Linked DNA regions of Homo sapiens: region 1 is linked to region 2. Evidence: promoter capture Hi-C in 16 types of primary human blood cells and fetal thymus (Javierre and others, 2016). All regions are on one chromosome and are shown on one strand. The core of a region is centred on a gene start or on the middle of the fragment in contact, and the rest is flanking DNA. Distances in the headings are between cores, read along the strand shown.

The links. The method cuts DNA at HindIII sites, captures the fragments that hold promoters and counts their contacts. A CHiCAGO score of 5 or more calls a contact.
Region 1: a contact is called between a fragment that was not itself captured here and the fragment with the promoter of SCNN1B in region 2, in 1 of 17 cell types (endothelial precursors). The highest score is 5.2, in endothelial precursors.

The regions. Positions count from the first base shown.
Region 1 is chr16:23,431,233-23,437,135 of GRCh38, reverse strand. It overlaps COG7 (component of oligomeric golgi complex 7), which reads left to right. Exons shown (of 17, transcript NM_153603.4): 5 at 2,418-2,500; 6 at 3,469-3,591. Among named protein-coding and RNA genes, the nearest start is that of COG7, 19 kb to the left of the region's middle. The HindIII fragment of the contact is 941 bases long and covers 3,139-4,079 here.
Region 2 is chr16:23,300,644-23,306,614 of GRCh38, reverse strand. It overlaps SCNN1B (sodium channel epithelial 1 subunit beta), which reads right to left and starts at 4,313. Exons shown (of 13, transcript NM_000336.3): 1 at 4,178-4,313. RefSeq lists enhancers at 4,081-4,597, 4,598-5,115. The HindIII fragment of the contact is 6,869 bases long and covers 3,690-5,971 here.

The DNA of each region.
Region 1 (5,903 bases), core at 2,360-4,859, 130 kb before region 2:
AGAAGGCGAAAATGGCGCTTTTGAGCTCCATAGGCTGCCTCCTCTGCTGGGCCGCAGTGGAAACAGCCCTCCCTCCCATGCCTGGCCCAAGCCCCCTTGGCCCCCAGTCTTTGGCCCTTTGTACTGTTCTGCACCACCCTTAGCGCCCAGACTTTTACCAGCTTCCCCACCCATTGTGGCCCAAAGTGATTAGATATCTAGTTGGGATTCTCTGAAATATGTAGTACAGATATTTTCCTGGCTTCAACGCAGATAAAACAATGTTTTCTTTTGGTGATTAATCTTAATTTTGGCAAGCATCAGGAAGGGTTCCCCCGCCCCACAGGTAATGTGCTGTTTATAATCAGCCATGTTTCCTGGAAGGCTGAGGTAGTTCTTTATCTAACAGTTTTTACTTTTTATTTTTTTTGAGACAGAGTCTACACTCTGTTGCCCAGGCTGGACTGCAGTGGTGTGATCTCGGCTCACAGCAACCTCCAGCTCTTGGGTTCAAGCGCCTCAGCTTCTGGAGTAGCTGGGATTACAGGCATGCACCACCACGCCTGGTTAATTTTTTATATTTTTAGTAGAGACGGGGTTTCACCATATTGGCCAGGCTGGTCTCGAGCTCCTGACCCCAGATGATCCACCCACTTCAGCCTCCCAAAGTACTGGGATTATAGTCATGAGCCACCTCACCCGGCCTAGCTAACAGTTTTTAAAGGGAATTCTCTGATAAATTTGTTCATCCCCAACATGTTCCCCTTTTCCATCTCCTAAAATGACAATGTGAGTATAGCCAAGTATACATGCCCAGTTCATTTTATATAACCAATGAATTCAGCTGATACACTGAAGCAACTTTTTATAGAATTATTTTAATTAATTTTTTTGCTTCTCACTGGTCAAACCCAATTTATAGAATTTTGTTTTTTGAGCTAGAATCTTGCTCTGTCACTCAGGCTGAAGTGCAGTGATGTGATCACAGTTCACTGCAGCCTTGTCCTCCCAGGCTCAAGTGATACTCCCAGCTCAGCCTCCTGGGGTTTACAGGTGCACATCATGCCCAGCTAATTTTTTCTATTTTTTGTAGAGGGGTCCTGTGTTGCCTAGGACATTTTTGAACTCCTGGGCTCAAACAGTCCTCCCACCTCAGCCTCCCAAAATGCTGGGATTACAGGTGTGAGCCACCACACCTGGCCTATGGAATAATTTTAAATGTAACAGGAAGATTCACTTATTTAAGTGTTCTTATGAAAATAATAAGCATTTTAAAGGCAAATATTCGTTTTCTAACTCATGGATTTCTGCCCATTAAGTCAAGTTCCACTGGCAGGTCTCCAGCGCTTAGCTGGGTGTCCCACAGCGGTTGCTGTTACAACATTTCCTTCTCAGCAGTTTATTGGGCTTCCCAGAAGTGAAGGGGAACAGAGCAAATATAAGAAGTTTGGAGACCTGTTAGCTCAAGGCTTTTTTTTCCCTTCTTTTGATATAGTTCTAAGGCTGTGGCATGTACATTTTGGCCAGAAGGGGGCGGACAGGAGCCAGAGGTGGCGCTGCTGTGCACACTATTCAGAGACTGCACTGAAACCCACCTTCCTGTCTGTCCAGCGGTGAGCCTGGAAGCAAGTGCTTTGCCCAGTCATTTCCTCTGCCCTTAGGGAAATATGTCAGAAACTACTTGATATTAAGCCCATAACTTGGGTCTTAGAATCCATTGTTATGTGTGGAATGCTAATAGTTACCAAATTATTTGATTTTATGTTTTGTTTTTTTGTTTTGCTTTGTTTTAGAGGGAGTCTTGCTCTGTTGGCCAGGCTGGAGTGCAGTGGCGCGATCTTGGCTCACTGCAACCTCTGCCTCCCGGGTTCAACCAATTCTCCTCCCTCAGCCTCCCAAGGAGCTGGGATTACAGGTGTGCACCACCACGCTCAGCTAATTTTTGTTTTTCTTTTAGTAGAGATGGGGTTTTGCCATGTTGGCCAGGCTGGTCTCGAACTCCTGACCTCAGGTGATCCGCCTGCCTTAGCCTCCCAAAGTGCTGGGATTACAGGCATGAGCTACCGCGACCAGCCCAAATTATTTACTTATTCCTCAAACCACCAGATATGTTGACATATAGCAGTTCAGTGTGTTTGCTTTTTTAAAGTTCCCATCTGGTATAATCGAAGTAGGAATTTTGAAAGACATAAATAACCTCTCAGTATCATGTTAAAATATGAATTCTGTGAGGAACAGTGGGGAATACCTTGCAGTATCTGGTTTTCACGTCATGCTTATTTTTCAAATTTATGATCCTCATGCATGAGTTAATTCAGTATCTAGGCAGGAACTTGTGAATACTAGCTTCCATATATCCACCTTCATCCTGGTGAGTTTTTTCTCATGTCTACACCAGAAAGGCTGGTAACAGTATATATACATTGTATGTTCTTTAGATCAGTCCAAAGTGTTTGTGAAGGTGTTTACTGAAATTGACCGGATGCCCCAGCTCCTGGCCTACTACTACAAGTGTCACAAGGTAAGAAGCTGTGCGCGATGACAGTTGTGCAGTTGTGGAATGCTCATAACTCTGGGTCACAGAATCGCAGGTTCATAATTCAGAAGGTAAGAACATTTGTCTCCTTGCCCTCTGGCTGTTTTTCTCTTAGTTAGCCAGTAGGGGGTGCTCTTGGTCTAGCATATGGATTTGTTTAATTGCCAGTTGGAAAAAGTTATCCGTTTTCATTCTCTTTTCTGTTTACAGCTGGATTCATTATAGACTTGAAACGTTGTTTTAATTTATTCTCATTTTTGTCTTTTAAGGGAGATTTATGTCTTAAGCTTTATTACACCCTCAGAAGGCAGTAAGAATTTCTCTTTTTTTCTTTAGAGATAGGGTTTCACTATTTTGCCCAGCCTGGAGTGCGGTGACTATTCACAGATCCGATCATGGTGCACTACAGCCTTGAACTCCTGGGCTCAAGTGATCCTCCCGTCTCAGCCTTGTGAGGAGTTGGGACTACAGGCGCGTGCCACTCCACCTGGCTTGGAATTTTATGTTTTCTAGGTTTGCTGAAGTTAGATTGCCAAAAAACTTGACAGCTTCCTGAACTGACCTTAATTCCTTCAAGTCCAGTGCTCTGTGTCTTTTAAGCAGTGATGTTAGGACATGAAGCTTAAACATACATGTCTGCCCGCTCTTGCCCCAACATCTATTCAGAAGAGTGATGGTGTGCCAAGTGGTTGCACATTACATGTTTTTAGGGCAGGATAAATGGAGAGGGGATCACATCCGCAGGGTGACAGATTAAAGCTGTGAATCAGTGCAGATAACTGCAAATGTTTTTTTTTTTTTCCTGCCTTTCTTTGAAGTGAATGGACCTCACTGGGCTGCCCAGTGAGCCCATTGAGCAATCCGTGATTACGCTGGGTAGCAGGGCAGGGCAGTGTTCACAGGCAACCTATGTTGACGTACCCAATAAGGTTCCCTTTGTTCTGTCTCTGCAGGTGCAGCTTTTAGCAGCCTGGCAAGAGCTGTGTCAAAGTGACCTATCCCTGGACCGGCAGCTTACCGGACTCTATGATGCCTTGCTTGGTGCTTGGCACACACAAATCCAGTGGGCTACACAGGTAACAGCTCATTTTTGTTCTAGGGAGAACAGAGTCTGTGGTGACAAGGGAACGGGTGACTGCCTCGGGAGTGGCCACCCTCAACTGCAGAGCACAGCTCAAAGAACTTCCCCGTTTGTTGCTGTCATTCAAGGGGTTAAAAAATAACCAGTTAGGCCGGGTGCGGTGGCTCACACTTGTAATCACCACACTTTGGAAGGTCGAAGTGGGCGGATCGTTTGAGCCTAGGAGTTCGAGACCAGCCTGGCCAACACGGTGAAACCCCAACTCTACAAAAAATGCAAAAGTTAGCCAGGTGTGGTGGCACAATTACTAAGGAGACCGAGGCAGGAAGATTGCTTACGTCCAGGAGGTTGAGGCCACAGTGACTATGGTCGCACCACTACACTTCAGCTTGGACAACAGAGCAAGCAAGACTGTCTCAAACAAACAAACAACAAAAGAAAAAACGATAACCAGTTAAATGGTTTAAGTTTAAAAGATAAGCTTAGAAATCCACGTCAGTGAAATCTTTAGGTCTCCACTGAAACTCTTCTTACCACTCTTATCTATAACTTAAATAGGACCTAATGTGACAATGCCGCCTGTTGTCCAGCAAGGGAGCCTGTGGAATTCCTGAAGGCCATTTTCTTCCCATCTAAAAGCAGGAGGCCCCTCGTCAGGTGGTGTTCGAATGAACAGGAATGTTTTTATCTTTACTTCAGGTAAAATTTACCTACCTGAAGTGAGTCTCCCTTGTTCTCATGATACACCAAGAAGTAGGGGAAGAGATAATTTTAAAGGTACCCCCTGACTAGGAGTGAGGAGAGACAGAGGAACTTTGTTTCAAGTGGCAACTATCCATCATTTACTTTCCTCAAGTCTCTAGGCATTTCCAGCCATAAAGGTTTTAAACCGTTGTTCTCTTGCCTTGAGACAGGAGGCACAGTAGAACCTCTTGTAAGCAGGGGAAGAGCCTGTCTTACTTTGCAGTAATGACTTACTGGGCCTGTTTCTAGTGTGGCTTATTTTATTTATTTTTTTCTTATTTATTTATTTTTTTTCTCCAAACCCTTGTGTTGAGGGCTGATTTTCAATAGCACTCAGATAGAGAGCTATTGAAATAGATTGCAGTGAGGGAGCTGCTCTGCTATGTACGAAACCCCAACCTAGAAGCAGGTCATCTACGAGTGGTTTAGTGTCACGTTCCCCATATTTTATTTTTTACTATAGTTGTGAATCACTCTTCAGATGTTCATCAGTCATTTGCTGGAATGAATTTGACTAAGGTTGGAGAGAATTCCTTATACCGGGTCATGTCATTCAAGTTGTTGGTTAAAGCACTTTTCTCCATCCTTGTTCTTTTTCCTTGAACTAACCTAATTCATTCTTAGGATTTTGTTTTGTTTTGTTTTGTTTGAGACAGAGTCTTGCTCTGTCATGCAGGCTAGAGTGCAGTGGCATGATCATGGCTCACTGCAGCCTCGGCCTCCTGGGTTCAAGCTGTCCTCCTGCCTGAGCCTTTCAAGTAGCTAGGAATACACGTATGTGCCACCATGCCTGGCTAATTAAAAAAAATTTTTTTTGTAGAGATAAGGATCTCACTGTGTTGCCCAGGCTGGTCTCTAACTCCTGGCCTCAAGTAATCCTCCCACTTTGGCCTCCCAAAGTGCTGGGATTACAGGCATGAGCCACCATGCCTGACTTTATTTTATTTTTCTTAAGAAGAATATTTCTTTTTTTTTTTTTTTTTTCTTCAGACAGAGTCTTGCTCTGTCACCCAGGCTGGAGTGCAGGGACACAATCTTGGCTCCCTGCAACCTCCGCCTCTCTGGTTCAAGCAATTCTCCTGCCTCAGCCTCCTGAGTAGCTGGGATTACAGGCATCCGCCACCACTCCCAGCTAATTTTTGTGTTTTTAGTACAGATGGGGTTTCACCATGTTGGCTGGGCTGGTCTCGAACTCCTGACCTCAAATGACCACCCACCTCGACCTCCCAAAGTGCTGGGATTACAGGCATGAGCCACTGTGCCCGGCCAAGAAAAAAATTATTCATGTGTTCTTGCCTCTTCTACTACTTCTTGTATCACAAGGATAAAAACAGTTCATGTCCATACATACGAATGCCTTTCGTCATCTAAGAAAAAGAACTTAGACTTCTCAGACTTCTCTTTGGGCCTCATCCTAGATTTTGGGAGACATGAGTTTCTGCTGATTTATACTGTTGGCCTGTGGCCCATTTTCTTTTCAGGATGGAAGCATAATAGTTGGGCTGTCCCCTCCTGAAGGTCGGTATAGCACACAGGAGCCAGGGCACATGTGTCTCCTTCAGA
Region 2 (5,971 bases), core at 3,064-5,563:
CCTTGGCCAGAAAAGGTATTGCAGCGTCTTACTTGAAGAAGGGGCTCAAAGAGTTACTTTCCTTCCTTCTCCCTCCCTTACTTATGTTCCTACCACATTTTATAAGGAGTATAATTGGAGTATAATCCACTGTTACAGGGGCCAGGCAGGTGCTGATAACACCACCATTATCAGCATCAGCATCAGCAATGGTTAGACAGTGTTTACTTGAGTCAGGCACTGTACTAAGGGGTTCATGTGTGTTGACTCATTTAATGCCCAACATAACCGTTTGAGGCAAGTGCTATTTATTATGCCTGTTTTACCCATAAGGAAATGGAGTCACAAAAAATGCTAAACAATTTGCTTGAAACATAGGTTTTTTTTTTTTTTTGACAGAGTTTCACTCTTGTCTCCCAGGCTAGAGTGCAACGATGCAATCTCGGCTCATCGCAATCTCCACCTTCTGGGTTCAAGCGATTCTCCCACTTCAGCTTCCCAAGTAGCTGGGACTACAGGCACCCACCACCATGCCCAGCTAATTTCTGTATTTTTACTAGAGATGGAGCTTCACCCCGTTGGCCAGGCTGGTCTCGAACGCCTGAACTCAGGTGATCCACCCGCCTCAGCCTCCCAAAGTGTTGGGATTACAGGCGTGAGCCACTGCGCCTGGCCTGAAACTTGTAATTAATCCACTGCATAGCTGGGAGATAGAGATTGGCTGTGGAGTCCGTGGTGTTACCTTTTATATTAGCTGCTCTTTATGAATGAGGGGTGGGCCAGGTAGGGACTGTCATGCCCTGCAGGGTGCCTGCTCCATGTAAGGGGGCAGCTGAGTGTCTGGCCCAGAGTTGCCAGCTTTTCTTTTCTTTCTTTCTTTTCCTTTTTTGAGGCAGGGTCTCACTCTGTTGCCCAAGCTGGAGTACAACTGTGTGATCACAGCTCACTGTAGTCTCAACCTCCTGGGCTCAGGGGAGCCTCTCACCTCAGCTTCCCCTGTAGCTGGGACTGTAGGTACATGCCACCACACCCAGGTTATATATATATATATATATATAATATATATATATATATATATATATATATATATATATATATATAATATATATATTTGGTAGAGATGGGTTTTTGCCATGTTGCTCAGACTGATATTGATCTCCTAAGCTCAAGCAACTCGCTGGTCTCGATCTCCTAAGCTCAAACAACCCACCCTCCTTGGTCTCCCAAAGTGCTGGGATTACAGGTGTGAACCACCATGCCTGGCCATTGCCAGCTTTACTGATATCTCAAGAGGATCCAGAAATATGGAGTCTTATATGAACTGATTTTTAAAATCTTGGGAATAATCTAAAAATTTAAAAGTCCACAGGCCTTCTTTGTGACTTTTGCTATCTCTTGTATTCCAAAGGGGAGCACCTCAGCTCACTTCATTTCTGTGTCTTAACCCAGGACCAGGCACACCTTAGGCCTTTTGTAAGTAACATGACACTTCTGGACTCCACAGTAAGCTGGGCTTGGCTCTCAACAAGCGGAAATCTCTTCTTTGGCTCAGGGCTCAGTGCAAAGGACCCTCTGGTCTGTACTTGGGGTGTGGATGAAGTCACAAACAGTGGCTCTAGGCATCACCCCTGCGTCCCCCCACCACCCAAGGGCCATCTCCAGGTCTCCCCTGTTCAGGAAAAGACTTCCTGCTTACTGATGCTGATGAGTCCCTAAGCATTTTATTTACATCACCCCACTAATCCACCTAACAGTTTGGGGAGGGTGCCATTATTATCATGCCCATTTTACAGATGTGAAAACTACGGCTCAGGGAGGGGAAGGGAATTGCCTGAACTAGGAAGGGGTGAAGCTGGGATTATAATGTAGTGTCTCTGATTCTAGCTTTTCATCAACCCAGATCATGGGTTCCACCAAACTTTTAAGGGTCCTGTCAGTCTATAGCAAACACACTCTCTTTAGGCCACAGCCTGGACCTACAGTTTGTGGTACACAAACAGGACCCTGGACAGTCCAATCTGCCAGTCCGTGGTTCGTGGTTCTCAGCTCCTTCTGTCTGCTATTGGAGGCTGAGTTTGGCTTTGGAGGGCATCTAGAGAGAACCCCTGGAGGTGGCCCCGATGGAACCTCTGCCCATTGGGGCATGGCCAGGCAGAACTAGTGGCCTGGCTGAGTCTCAGCCTTAGGGACCTGCAGAGACTGCAGCTAGAGAAAGTGTGGTGTTTGTCCTTGGTCATAGACAGAATAGAGGTGTGTGCACACACCTGTGTGTGTGTATGCATGCATGTACACTTGCTTGTGTGTATGTCTCATGTATGTGTGCCCGTGTGTGCTTGTGTGTGAACATGCATATGTACACACATGTGTGCATGTGTGTGTGTGCATGCATTCATGGGTCCGTATGTGAGCAGTGGAAAAGAGAGGACCTCATCCCCTAAATTCAGATCCTGTGAAGTTAGTTTAGGATAAAGAAAAATAAATTGAACTTAACCCAGAGATAACAATTTATAGAAGATGCTGAAATAAAAACCAACCTGAAAATTTTTGTCACCTAAATTCCCATCGGTAGGCATTATCCACGGCGGGAATCCATGCAGCAGTTTAAATAAATAAGCTGGGTTTATATGCAGCAGCATGGATAACTGGTGATGAGAGGGCTCAAGTTGCAGAATGACATAGGTGGGTTGTACCATTTCTACTTCTAGTTCTATTTTTCTGAAACAGAGTCTTGCTCTTTCACTCAGGCTAGAGTGCAATGGTGCCATCTCAGCTCACTGCAACCTCCACCTCCTGGGTTCAAGCGATCCACCTGCGTCAGCCTCCTGAGTAGCTGGGATTACAGGCACATACCACTATGCCCGGCTAATTTTTTTTTTTTTTTTTGTAGAAATGGGGTTTCACCATGTAGGCTGGGCTGGTCTCAAACTCCTGACCTCAAGTGATCCGCCCTCCTCAGCCTCCCAAGGGTTGCATCATTTCTATTAAATATCCACCTACAACATTACTACATTACTAAGTATTTTACATATTTTCTATGGCTCTGTATATATGACTGTGTAGGTGGGGGAAAGGGTCTAGAAGGAAACACTCCAAATTATGAAGGTGTTTACCTTTGGGGAGCTGGGAGGGCAGGGGTGGAAGATTACAGAGGAAGAAGAATGGATCCCTGTGTTCTGCATGGAATTACACAGCTCAATGGGTAGGCAGGTTGGGTCACTCACGGATGCTGGGATCTGAGACAGGGGTGCTCAGGTCTCTGGGAGCTTTCAGACCCATCCACCCGGCTTTGTGAGAGCTGGGCTGCCAGGGACCAAAGCCAGTCTTGGTTGTTCTGCCCCTACTCCCTGGTGGAGGTGAGTGGGAAGATGTGCCTTTTGTGGACTGGAGGTCTCTGCTGCTTCCTCCCTAAACTCTGTGCCTCATTTTCCCCCTCCACGCTAGAGTGAGAATGTCCCTGTACTATATCCCAGACCCTTTCCCTCCACAGCACACCTAAGTCATATGACATTGTCCAGACATCAACTTAGCACTTGAGAATCCTCAGCGCAGACAACTGCAGGGCGTTCGGATCTGGCCTCCTCCACCACATCACCCCAAATGAAACCCACGTTCCCCGGACGCCACTGACAGCCCACGAGGTAGGCTCCAGGGTCGGACTGCCTGGGTTCAAATCTGAGCTCAGCAACTTGTTCCTGGGACGTAGGGAAGCTTCCCCACCCTCTGACCCTCAGTTTGCACCTCTGCAAAATGGGGACAGCAAGAGAACCACCCCACAGGGATGCCCTGTGAGCGAAGTTAGGTCGTTTGAGCAAGGCGCTCTGCTGAGCTGTGCCCAGCACGTAGAAAGCGCTCTCGAGTTTCATTGTTGTCACCTCTTGAACAACTTCTTGCCCCGCCCACTCTATGCCAGGACTTTGCCGCCGTCTCTGAGGTCCCAGACACGCCGGGGACCCTGGCCCCGTCTGCCTTCTGCACCCTGGGGGCTTTTCCCAGCCTCCAGCTCTCCCCTCCGCCCCCAACCCGTTCAGTCCCCAGGCCGGGTCCCAGGCGCCTCAGACAGGCACCCAAGCGCCCTCCCGTGGGAAACTGAGGCCGGGACAGGAGCTCGCGGGCCGGGGTTGGGCAGGAGAAGGCGCGCGCGCAGGGACTCCGGGCAGCGCGCGGGAGACCGGGTGCGAGCCAGGGTTCGCCGTCATACCTGCTCGGGCGGCGGAGCGGGGACACGGAGGATGCGCGCTGTCGGCGGTGGCGGAGGCGGCGGTGCGCGCCAAGCTGGCGGCGGCGGCCGAGTGTTGGTGACACTGGGACACCCGGCGAGCGCGGCGAGACCGACTGGGAGGGAGCAGGTTCAGGGGCGGGGAAGCACGGGGAGCGCCCGCGGGTGGAGCTTACTGGGCGCTACCGGCCTGGCCACACGCACGGTCCCGGCTCCCCTGGCCACCTCCCTCGCCTCCCAATAAGCTCCAGCCCCCACACGCCAGGTTCAGGGACACTGGACGCCCCCCGCACGCACGCGCTCCGCATTCTCCCTCCCCACCTCGGGACACCAGCGATACCCACATGCGCCACGAATATGTCCACAGACCCCTCATCCGAGTGTACCCCACGTCCCCTCAGTACATATCACAAGCCACATATATGAACACTCCATCCCACCCCACGCGTGTACCTGTCCCGTTCACCTAGGCGAAGCATCGCGCTCACCAGTACAGGCGCGCCCCCATCACATCCACACCCCTGCAGACACAGTGTCCTCTGGGCAAGTTGGTGACTTTAGGGGGACATATGCAGCCACTTTTCCCAGGAACGTTCTTCCCTCCGCCTCTTCCACCTCCACCAAGGTGGAGACCTCCCAGATCTCAGTCATCCCCGATAGGTCCTATCTTTGCATTAGAAATTCAAACAGCCCACCCCGAGATTGGGAACTCTGGCCCCCTCTGGAGTGCCCACTACACCTGTGCTCTAGCCTCAGGGCACTGGCGGGCCTTGCGCATTTCCTCGAATCTTCCCTTCCTTTTCTTTTCTCTTCTCATCAAGTCAAGGTTTCAGGACTATCATTTCAGCCACTTTCTTGCCAATATCCTTAACACTTAGTTTCCTGTATATTTCTCCATAGATTGTCTTAATGCAGTCATTCTCAAAATTTTTGGTCTTAGGAATCTTTTGTATTTTTCTTTTCTTTTCTTTCTTTCTCTTTCCTTTCTTTCTCTCTCTCTCTCTCCACCTCCCTCCCTCCCTACCTCTCTCTTTCTTCTTTCTTTCTTTCTTTTTTTTTTGACAGAGTCTCACTCTGTTGCCCAGGCTGGAGTGCAGTGGTGTCATCTCAGCTCACTGTAACCTCCACTTCCCGGAATCAAGCAATTCTCCTGCCTCAGCCTCCCTAGTAGCTGGGATTACAGGCATGCACCACCATGCCCGGCTAATTTGTGTTTTTTGTAGAGATGGGTTTTCTTCATATTGGCCAGGCTGGTCTGGAACTCCTGGACTCAAGTGATCCACCCGCCTCGGGCTCCCAAAGTGTTGGGATTACAGGTGTGAGCCACCATGCCCAGCCAGGAATCTTCTGTACTTTTAAAAATTACAGAATACCTGAGACTTTTTGTTTATGTGGAATACACACACACACACACACACACACACACGTGTTTTTAACACATATATGTTATTTTGTTTATATAATGATACTTTCCATATGAGAAACTAAAACTGATACCTAAAAATATTTATTAATGCATTACACTATAATAAACCCACTACTTGTTGACATAAATAAAAGGCTTTTTTACAATTTTTTTCTTTTTTTGGTAAAGAGAGACAGGGTCTCAATTTGTTGCCCAGGCTAGAGCGCAGTGGTGTGACCCCTGCAGCCTCAAACTCTTGGGCTCAAGCCATCTTCCTGCCTTAGCTGGGACTACAAGGTGTGTGTGCCACTGCTTCCGGCTAATTAAAAAAAGTTTATTTTTCTGGAGACAAAGTCTTGCTGTGTTACCCA